Linked DNA regions of Homo sapiens: region 2 is linked to region 1. Evidence: promoter capture Hi-C in 16 types of primary human blood cells and fetal thymus (Javierre and others, 2016). All regions are on one chromosome and are shown on one strand. Each heading gives the region's core, a stretch centred on a gene start or on the middle of the fragment in contact. The rest is flanking DNA. Distances are from core to core; before and after follow the strand shown.

Region 1 (4,340 bases), core at 773-3,272:
TAACTCATCCCAACACTCAGCAACTATCACAAAACAGGCATTTAGTAACTGTTTGCCAAATTAAAAAAAAAAAAACTGCAGAGACTTACACTTGCTAGTCCTTCCCACTTCTTTACCTAGTTAATTAGTACCAAATTTAGATATAAAGCAAGTAAAAAACTCAGTATTGTTGAAATTTGAATGCATTCAGTAGTAGTAATGAGTTTTATAACTGACTTTTGAGCATATTCAATTACTACAACTCAAAAGATATATACTAAATATCCATTATAATGTCAGGCTAATCTCTTGATTTAAAACCCTTAGAATTTAAAACCCATAGAATGACAAATTAGCCTGGTAATCACATGGGCAAGTCACAGACAGTTGTAACCAACACAGCTCAGTTTTTGTTTCAGCAAAATGTAAGTAACTACTAACTGGATTAATGCAGGGATTGATTTTATGATTTTGATGATCATAAATGATGAATTTGTAATTGATAAAGTTACCCTTTAAATAACAGAAGTTATTTAATGAGTTGATTAGAAATAACTCTGAGCAATTTTTGTATTAAATGTTTTGCAATCTGATTAATCAGAGCAGTATTTACATCCCTCAATTTTCAGCTGTCTCCTGAAATGCAAGCTGGTAATAGCAATTTGGATTTGGCCAAATCCTTCACCAACATTGCAAAGAGGATCAAAATTTGTTTCTTAGTGACAGCTATAGGATTGTAGGACAGTATTTCAGATAAGGAGGGCTTACAGATAAACAAACCACCACCTCAATGGTATTCAAGTTAAAACCTGTGACTGATGAGTCTACGTAAAACCAAAACAACATACTAAGTGATGATGAATGTCAGTATAAGAAAATACTTAAAATATGTGGTATGTTACAGAGCATTTCACACTTTTTAAAAAGAAAAGGATTCACTTAAATGGGTGACAGGCAGGGTAAGGGTAAATAAGATATGGTACTCTCACCTAAAAGTATATAATTTCCCTAATAGAAAGTATTGCTACCAATGTGGTATAAAAGGCTACAGAAGATAGACTGTATAAAGCGAAAAAATTATAAACCTGTATGTACAGCAATTTGTAGCGTAAATTATATAGAAGTATGGGTTTTTTGGCACATGCGTGAAAAATTTTAAGAGGTTTTCAAAAATATTTTACTTTTCTATAATTAAAATTTTAAAGATAATCAGCACATAGGTAATACAAAAAAAATCAGTGCCAATAAAAATAAGCAAAAGTTACAATTTTCCTATAGAGAAGGATGTTTAAACTGTGCTTACATATAGATTTAGTGAGGAATTTCAGCCTCTAGATTTTGCTTCAAAATTAAACCTAAGAGTTACCATGGAATTAAAACTGTACAGTAGTTTACCATAGGGAAACAAATTCTAACTTGATTTGTTTTATCTTCCATATTCAAAACATTTTCACACAGGGAAATAATAAGAGAAGAAAGGAACAAATACCCTAGGGGCTCAAAATCATTACCCGGACTTGTTTCCTGCCAGGTAGAGGCTCTGTGCTAATGATCTTCACAATCACTCCACTCACGAACTGTGGTCCTGTTGCATTAACTTTCTCCTGGGTGCGACACTCTTCCCTGTTGGCTGCTGATTAGAAAAGGAAAAAGACCAGGACTAAATCTCTTACACTTAACAACAATTTAATACTTAGGAGGACTACCTTAGAATAATTCCTGAGGCAGATTTAAATAATTTAAAACGTATTTAATTTTAAAGTAAACAATTAAAGGTTATATGTCATACTGCTTATTTCAAAATACCATGAATAAAACTCAGAAAGTTTTATTATTCTACATGCAAATTGTTACTGCTAGAAGAGCATTCGTAAAGCCTTTAAATTTGCCCCTTCTCCCTGAACAAAGGAACAGTAAATTTTTACTCAATAAAGTTAAAAAAAAGTTAAAGGATACTGTGTTTTAAATACATTATTATTCAAACGTGAACATTTATTTTTACAAGAAATGAGAATTTAAAATGTATCCTAATTTTGAATTCATAGGAATTCTGCTTTAACTTGTTCCTGCTTGTGGTGCATACTACAGAATGAAATTAACAGGTGAGAAACTACAATCTTCATTCCTACAAACTTGCTCAGTCTGCAAACTCTGCACTCATGTGCTTGATGAAAACTGTAGAGAAAACTCAGGTTATTTAAAAAATTGTTTTAAATGAGCCTTTTAAATATTCTTATATCAAGAGTAAGTAACACATCTGGATAACTTAACAAATCAAGAATTGTTCTAATAATGAAATAGAATAATCAAGTTTTTTAAAATTAAAATTTATCTTATAACAACTCAGAGATAGCATTTACATATATAAGTACATTATAATGTTGTCAAAACTATCAGTGATCTTTACTTTTTTCATTTTTCATTCCAGTGTTTTGAGGTACTCCACTGTCTGTTTCCATTTCTGACTCTGATTTTATTTGGGATATTGTTTTTTTTAAAGAAGCCATGCTAGCTTTTTGTAGCGCTAAATACTCTTTTTTCAAATCCATCCATTCGCTCCTACAAGGAAAGAAATGGTGATAACAGATGACTAAATATAAAAAGTAAATAGGGAAATATCTAAATATATACATTCACAATGACTTGGAGCAACTCCTCCACCAACTTTCCTGTTTCTTTAAACACATATTCAAAATATTTCCTAGGTTCTAAAGACATTTAGCAAAATAAGCTAAGGGAGTTCCTCTTCCCCCAATATTCAGATTAAATGTTTTAAGATTGCCAATTAAATTTTTGAGTGTCTGAAGTATTTTAATTTATAAAAGTAAAATTTTAGCATTAATTCCTTAACTAGTAACATTTACTAAATCAGTCATCTCTGTGGGAAAAGGGCGAGATTAAAGATTTGTTAAACTGCTTCCAATTTGAGAGATAACATTCCTTAGTATTTACTTGAATCAAAAAGAATTTCTAAGTAGAACAAAACACCCCGTGGAAGCAATCTATTTATTTACATACATTTAACATGTAGATGCTTCTTCAAACAGAGTTCCTCCAGATAGAAACACAATGCCTTTCTCGGCTCAGTGGGAGCACTCATTGTTACCCTAATCTATGCCATCAAACAAGCAGATAGGAGATTTTCTTTTTCTTTTTCTTTTTTTTTTTTAAGAGGAAGATATCTTGTGGTAATGGTTTTAGCTGTTAACATTGACATCTGTATACTTCAAAAAAAAAAAAAAGGATCCAGACCCACCCAGGATCATACATTCCCTGAGAGCTGATACATTAAAATAACAAAAGGCCCTTGTAATGATTCTCTGAGATAAAAAGGCAAAAGGAATTCAAGAGTTAAGAATAGTATAAATAGAAGTGGCTGAAGTCCCTGCCTTTTACCCTTCTGGAGGAGAACACGAATCTTTGGGAACTAGTTCAGGAAGGTAAAAAAATTTTTTTCTTCTAAAGTTATGCCATTTTGTTTTCTTTCTCCTCAGCTCTAAATACTCTGAAGTCCAAAGAAGTTGTATGTTGGGTGGGCTCCCTTCAACTTTAACATGGAAGTGCTTTCTGTGACTTTAAAAGTAAGTGCTTCCATGTTTTAGTAGGAGTGAATCCAATTTACTTCTCCAAAATAGAACACGCTAACCTCATTTGAAGGGATCCCCTTTGCTTTAACATGGGGGTACCTGCTGTGTGAAACAAAAGTAAGTGCTTCCATGTTTCAGTGGAGGTGTCTCCAAGCCAGCACACCTTTTGTTACAAAATTTTTTTGTTATTGTGTTTTAAGGTTACTAAGCTTGTTACAGGTTAAAGGATTCTAACTTTTTCCAAGACTGGGCTCCCCACCACTTAAACGTGGATGTACTTGCTTTGAAACTAAAGAAGTAAGTGCTTCCATGTTTTGGTGATGGTAAGTCTTCCTTTTACATTTTTATTATTTTTTTAGAAAATAACTTTATTGTATTGACCGCAGCTCATATATTTAAGCTTTATTTTGTATTTTTACATCTGTTAAGGGGCCCCCTCTACTTTAACATGGAGGCACTTGCTGTGACATGACAAAAATAAGTGCTTCCATGTTTGAGTGTGGTGGTTCCTACCTAATCAGCAATTGCGTTAACGCCCACACTGTGTGCAGTTCTTGGCTACAGGCCATTACTGTTGCTAATATGCAACTCTGTTGAATATAAATTGGAATTGCACTTTAGCAATGGTGATGGATTGTTAAGCCAATGACAGAATTTAAACCACAGACTTACTTTGATAGCACTCTTAATGGTATAACTTCTTCTCCCATTTTATGTCTCTCTTTATGTTTTTTCTTATGTTTCCTTTTTGTTTTCAAGAGAGAGCTATCTTTT
Region 2 (4,340 bases), core at 689-3,188, 120 kb before region 1:
TCCCATATGGAAGATGTGCTCCCTACTCCAGAAGGAAAGTAACATTTTTACCAGAGAGATGGGGAGTTAAGGCTGAGAAAAATCTGTACAAACCTTGTCAAGCTCACTCTTCCCTTCCTAGTTACTTTTCCACCATGAATTGTCCTAGCTCAAGCCTTTTTGTCTTGTCACATTTTCAGAATTTACTGCTCTTTGTCCAATTCAGTAAATAAGCATTTGACTCTGCTTCTTTTAGTATTCACTTCTATACGAGAATTCTCATGTCATGTAAAGCTTATATTAAATAAATTTGTATGTTTTTCTCTTGCTAATCTTTTGTTACAGGGGCCCCAGCTGGGAACTTAGGAGGGTAGAAGGGAAAGGATGTTTTTCTTCCCTTACAGTATCCCTCACTACTTCCTCTTCCTTCACTTCCTTCTTAACCAGAACACTCCCCCAAATCCTACCCTTAGTTCTCTTCTCTCACTACACGTTCCCTAGGCTGGCGCTTCTCAGAACGTAGTAGTTAGACCAATGGCATCAGCACCACCCGGGAACTTGTTAGAGCTGCAAATTATTGAGCCCTAACCAGACTGAATCAGAAACTCCAAGGGTGGCTGGGCTGCAACATGTTTTAACAAGCCCTCCAGGAGATTCTTACACATGCGAAAGTGTGGAAAACCACAGCCTTCATGCAGTCCCATCCGCCTCCAAGACGTCAGTCCTTATAGACCTACAACTACTCAAACCTATATACCTGGCTCTGACCAATTTTGTGAGCTTCAGACCTAATTTCTCATGTCCGCTAGGTTGGTCTCCCTATATGAATACTCCCAGTGTAACTCAAACTTAAAGTGATATACTTCCATCTTCCTACAAAAGCCGTGAGCAACCTCTACCCTACAACCTGCCCATTTTCCTACCTTCCCTTCTCAGTTAACGATACCCAACACTCACCTGGTCTATTAGCCTAGAAATCTTAAAATCTTAGAATTTTTTTTCTTGTGTGTGTGTGTGTGTGTGTGTGTGTGTGATGGAGCTTAGCTCTGTCACCCAGGCTGGAGTGCGGCGGCCCAATCTCGGCTCACTGCAACCTCCACCTCCTGGGTTCAAGCTATTCTCCTGTCTCAGCCTCCCAAGTATCTGGGATTACAGGCACGTGCCACCACACCCAGCTAATTTTTGTATTTTTAGTAGAGGCAGGGTTTCACCATGTTGGCCAGGCTGGTCTCGAACTTCCGACCTCAAGTAATCCACCTGCCTCGGCCTCCAAAAGTGCTGGGATTACAGGCATAAGCCACCGCCTTTGGTGAAATCTTAGGAATTATCCATTTTAATTGTCTTTCTCTCTTACCAGCCCCTCTGGTCACCAAGTTCTGATTCTACCTTAGGCACATCTCTTTATGCCCTACTCTCTTTTTTCTTTCACTGTCTATACTGCAGATTATCAGTAACTGGCCTCTCCACCTCCAGCTGGTCCAAACACAAAAGCATCCATCACACTCCTGCTGTACAAAACCCACGAGAAGAGGGGAAACTGGTGGAGAGACTGTGTTGAATATCAGTACAAATTTCAGTTGAGTCTTTAAAAATTATTCTCCAGCGGCCTGATTCTCTGTGAACCTGTTGCCCACAAGTATTATTTTTCAAAGCATCAGTCTTGTCCCGTTAAATCTCTTCTCAAAAACGTTCAAAATTTCCCATTGTCTATAAACAGTTCCAAATCTTTAATGGGACAATAAGTTTTTAAGCCCCTGCCTCCTGCTTAAATGATGTGGTGGTCTCACACTTTGACTCACACTATTCCTTGGACTGGACTTGGCCTCCCGTTTCCACCCCTCTTTCTTTACCATTTCACTTGTTATCCTTTAAAGACAATTCAAATGCTGCCTGCCCACCAGAACTCATGAATTGGTCCTCTTTCTGCTGCCCATGGCAATGTCTTAAACCTCTATGAGAGCTTCATTTCTTCCAGGCTTACAGGAGTTAGTTAGTCAGTTCGTTAGTTAGCTATTTATTTTTGAGACGGAGTCTCGCTCTGTCGCCCAGACTGGAGGTGCCGTGGCGCGATCTCGGCTCACTGCAAGCTCTGCCACGCGGGTTCACGCCATTCTCCTGCCTCAGCCTCCCGAGTAGCTGGGACTACAGACACCTGCCACTACACCTGCCTAATGTTTTCTATTTTTAGTAGAGACAGGGTTTCACCGTGTTAGCCAGGATGGTCTCGATCTCCTGACCTCGTGATCCACCCACCTTGGACTCCCAAAGTGCTAGGATTACAGGCGTGAGCCACCGTGCCCAGCGGTAGTTAGTTATTTATATCTTACAATACATGGATAGAAGATCCTTCCTTAAGGGCGTGACCAGGGCTGCAATTCATTTTTGTCTCTTACACCACTTACCACAGTAAAGATTTCCGGCTGGGCGCGGTGGCTCAAGCCTGTAATCCCAGCACTTTGGGAGGGCTCAAGCCTGTAATCCTAGTACTTTGGGAGGCCAAGGCAGGCAGATCACGAGATCAGGAGTTCAAGACCAGTCTGTCCAACATAGTCAAACCCCATCTCTACTAAAAATACAAAAATTAGCTGGGCATGGTGGCTGGCACCTGTAGTCCCAGCTACTTGGGAGTCTGAGGCAGGAGAATCACTTGAACCTGGGAGGCGGAGGTTGCAGTAAGCCGAGATCTTGCCACTGCACTCCAGCCTAGGCGATACAGCAAGACTCAGTATCAAAAAAATAAATTAATTAAAATAAAATAAAATAAAATAAAATTTACTTAGGTGGATAAAGATTTACTGGATGGATACTGATGGAATGGAAATACATATTGTATCTGTTACCACATAAAGGCTGGGCTAATGAAGCCTAACTGTCTTGGCACAAGTTGAATGCATGAATGTGTCTCTCTATTTCCTCAGAGCAGCAACTCTCAAATCTGACTAATCATGATAATTAATGGGGGAGATTTTCCCCAAAAAAGTGGATTCCCAAATGTTACCTAGGTAAAAACACAGAAAAGTAGTAATAATCTTTTAGGAAAGAGTCTAAGGGTAGGTGGGAAGAGAGAAGTTTTTACTTTTTACTTTGTTTTGTATCTTCAATGCTATGTGAATTTTCCAAACCCATGCGTGTTTTTGGCTTTTTTATGTCAACATGGGTTATCCAGATAAAGGAAACATGGGCCAATTTTGTGTTCTTGTTTATATTTTTCTGTGTTTTTTAAACTAATAATAAGACAGGGTCTCACTCCGTCATCCAGGCTGGAGTTCAGCAGCACGATCACGGCTCACCACAGCCCCAACTTCCCGAGCTCAGGTGATCCTCCCACCTCAGCCACCTCAGTAGCTGGGACTATAGGCATCCACCACCACACCTGGCTAATTTTTGCATTTTTTTAGAGATGGGGTTTTGCCATGTTGCCCAGGCTGGTCTTGAACCCCAGGGCTCAAGTGATCTGCCCACCTCGACCTCCCAAAGTTTTGGGATTTCGGGTATGAGCCACCGCATCCAACCACACTTTAAAAATTAATAAAACTAAATTAAAATACAGATTCTAAGCTCTCATTCTGGAGGTTCTCAGTTGGTACATATGCAATAGGAATCTGTATGTCTTTTCAAAGCTTCCACATAATTCTTGTACAGCCTCAGAACACACGCTCCCCAGTACCGTCACCTCCTACCCTTAAGTGGAGGTGAAAGGATGGAGCACCTCATTAATTTACAAATGTAGCAGAAGAAGAAAGCAACTGCACCAACAGCTAATAAGATGGACTTGAAGGCATAACCTGCTTACAAAACCCATCCTGCTGAGGGTACCAAAGGGACTCAACAGCAAGGGCCTCAACACTCCCCTCTTGAACACACACTTCTTCTCCTAGGTAATGCTATACTAGTTAATGAGGCTATTTGCCTTTAGTACCTTCTTTTCCCTTCAGACTATTTCTTGATATTCATTTAAGTCAGATTTCAGGAGGGTAATCCAGGTGTGGGTTTTTTTTCACATGTGTCCCAGGTGAGTCTCCAGTAAGGAATGGCTGAGTTGGGGCTCACAGGGTTCAGGATATGCTACTCCAAAATAAGGCACTGATATGATTTGGCTGTGTTCCCACTCAAATCTCATCTTGAGTTGTAGTTCCCATAGTTCCCACGTGTTGTGAGAGGGACCTGGTGGAAGATAATTGAATCATGAGGGCGGTTTCTCCCATACTGTTCTCATAGTAGTAAATAAGTCTCACGAGATCTGATGGTTTTATAAAGGGAAACTTATTTCACTTGGTCCTCATTCTCTCTTGTCTGCCACCATGTAAGACACACTTTTTGCCTTCCACCATGATTGTGAGGCCTTCCCAGCCATGAGGAAC

What was found. Contacts are between HindIII fragments. The CHiCAGO score rates a contact against its expected background, and 5 or more counts as called.
Region 2: a fragment that was not itself captured here is called in contact with the fragment with the promoter of MIR302CHG in region 1 in 1 of 17 cell types (erythroblasts); the score reaches 5.2 in erythroblasts.

The regions. Positions count from the first base shown.
Region 1 is chr4:112,647,733-112,652,072 of GRCh38, reverse strand. MIR302CHG (miR-302/367 cluster host gene) reads left to right here and starts at 2,022. Exons shown (of 3, transcript NR_146092.1): 1 at 2,022-2,081; 2 at 3,474-3,560. LARP7 (La ribonucleoprotein 7, transcriptional regulator) reads right to left here. Exons shown (of 13, transcript NM_016648.4): 8 at 4,239-4,340; 9 at 2,387-2,538; 10 at 1,491-1,612. MIR367 (microRNA 367) reads left to right here and starts at 4,132; the gene lies at 4,132-4,199. It overlaps MIR302D (microRNA 302d), which reads left to right and starts at 4,002; the gene lies at 4,002-4,069. It also overlaps MIR302A, MIR302C and MIR302B. RefSeq lists an enhancer at 2,480-3,202. The HindIII fragment of the contact is 6,288 bases long and covers 1-3,777 here.
Region 2 is chr4:112,772,188-112,776,527 of GRCh38, reverse strand. It overlaps a transcript of ANK2 not described here. Among named protein-coding and RNA genes, the nearest start is that of MIR302CHG, 120 kb to the right of the region's middle. RefSeq lists an enhancer at 2,084-2,610. The HindIII fragment of the contact is 3,326 bases long and covers 276-3,601 here.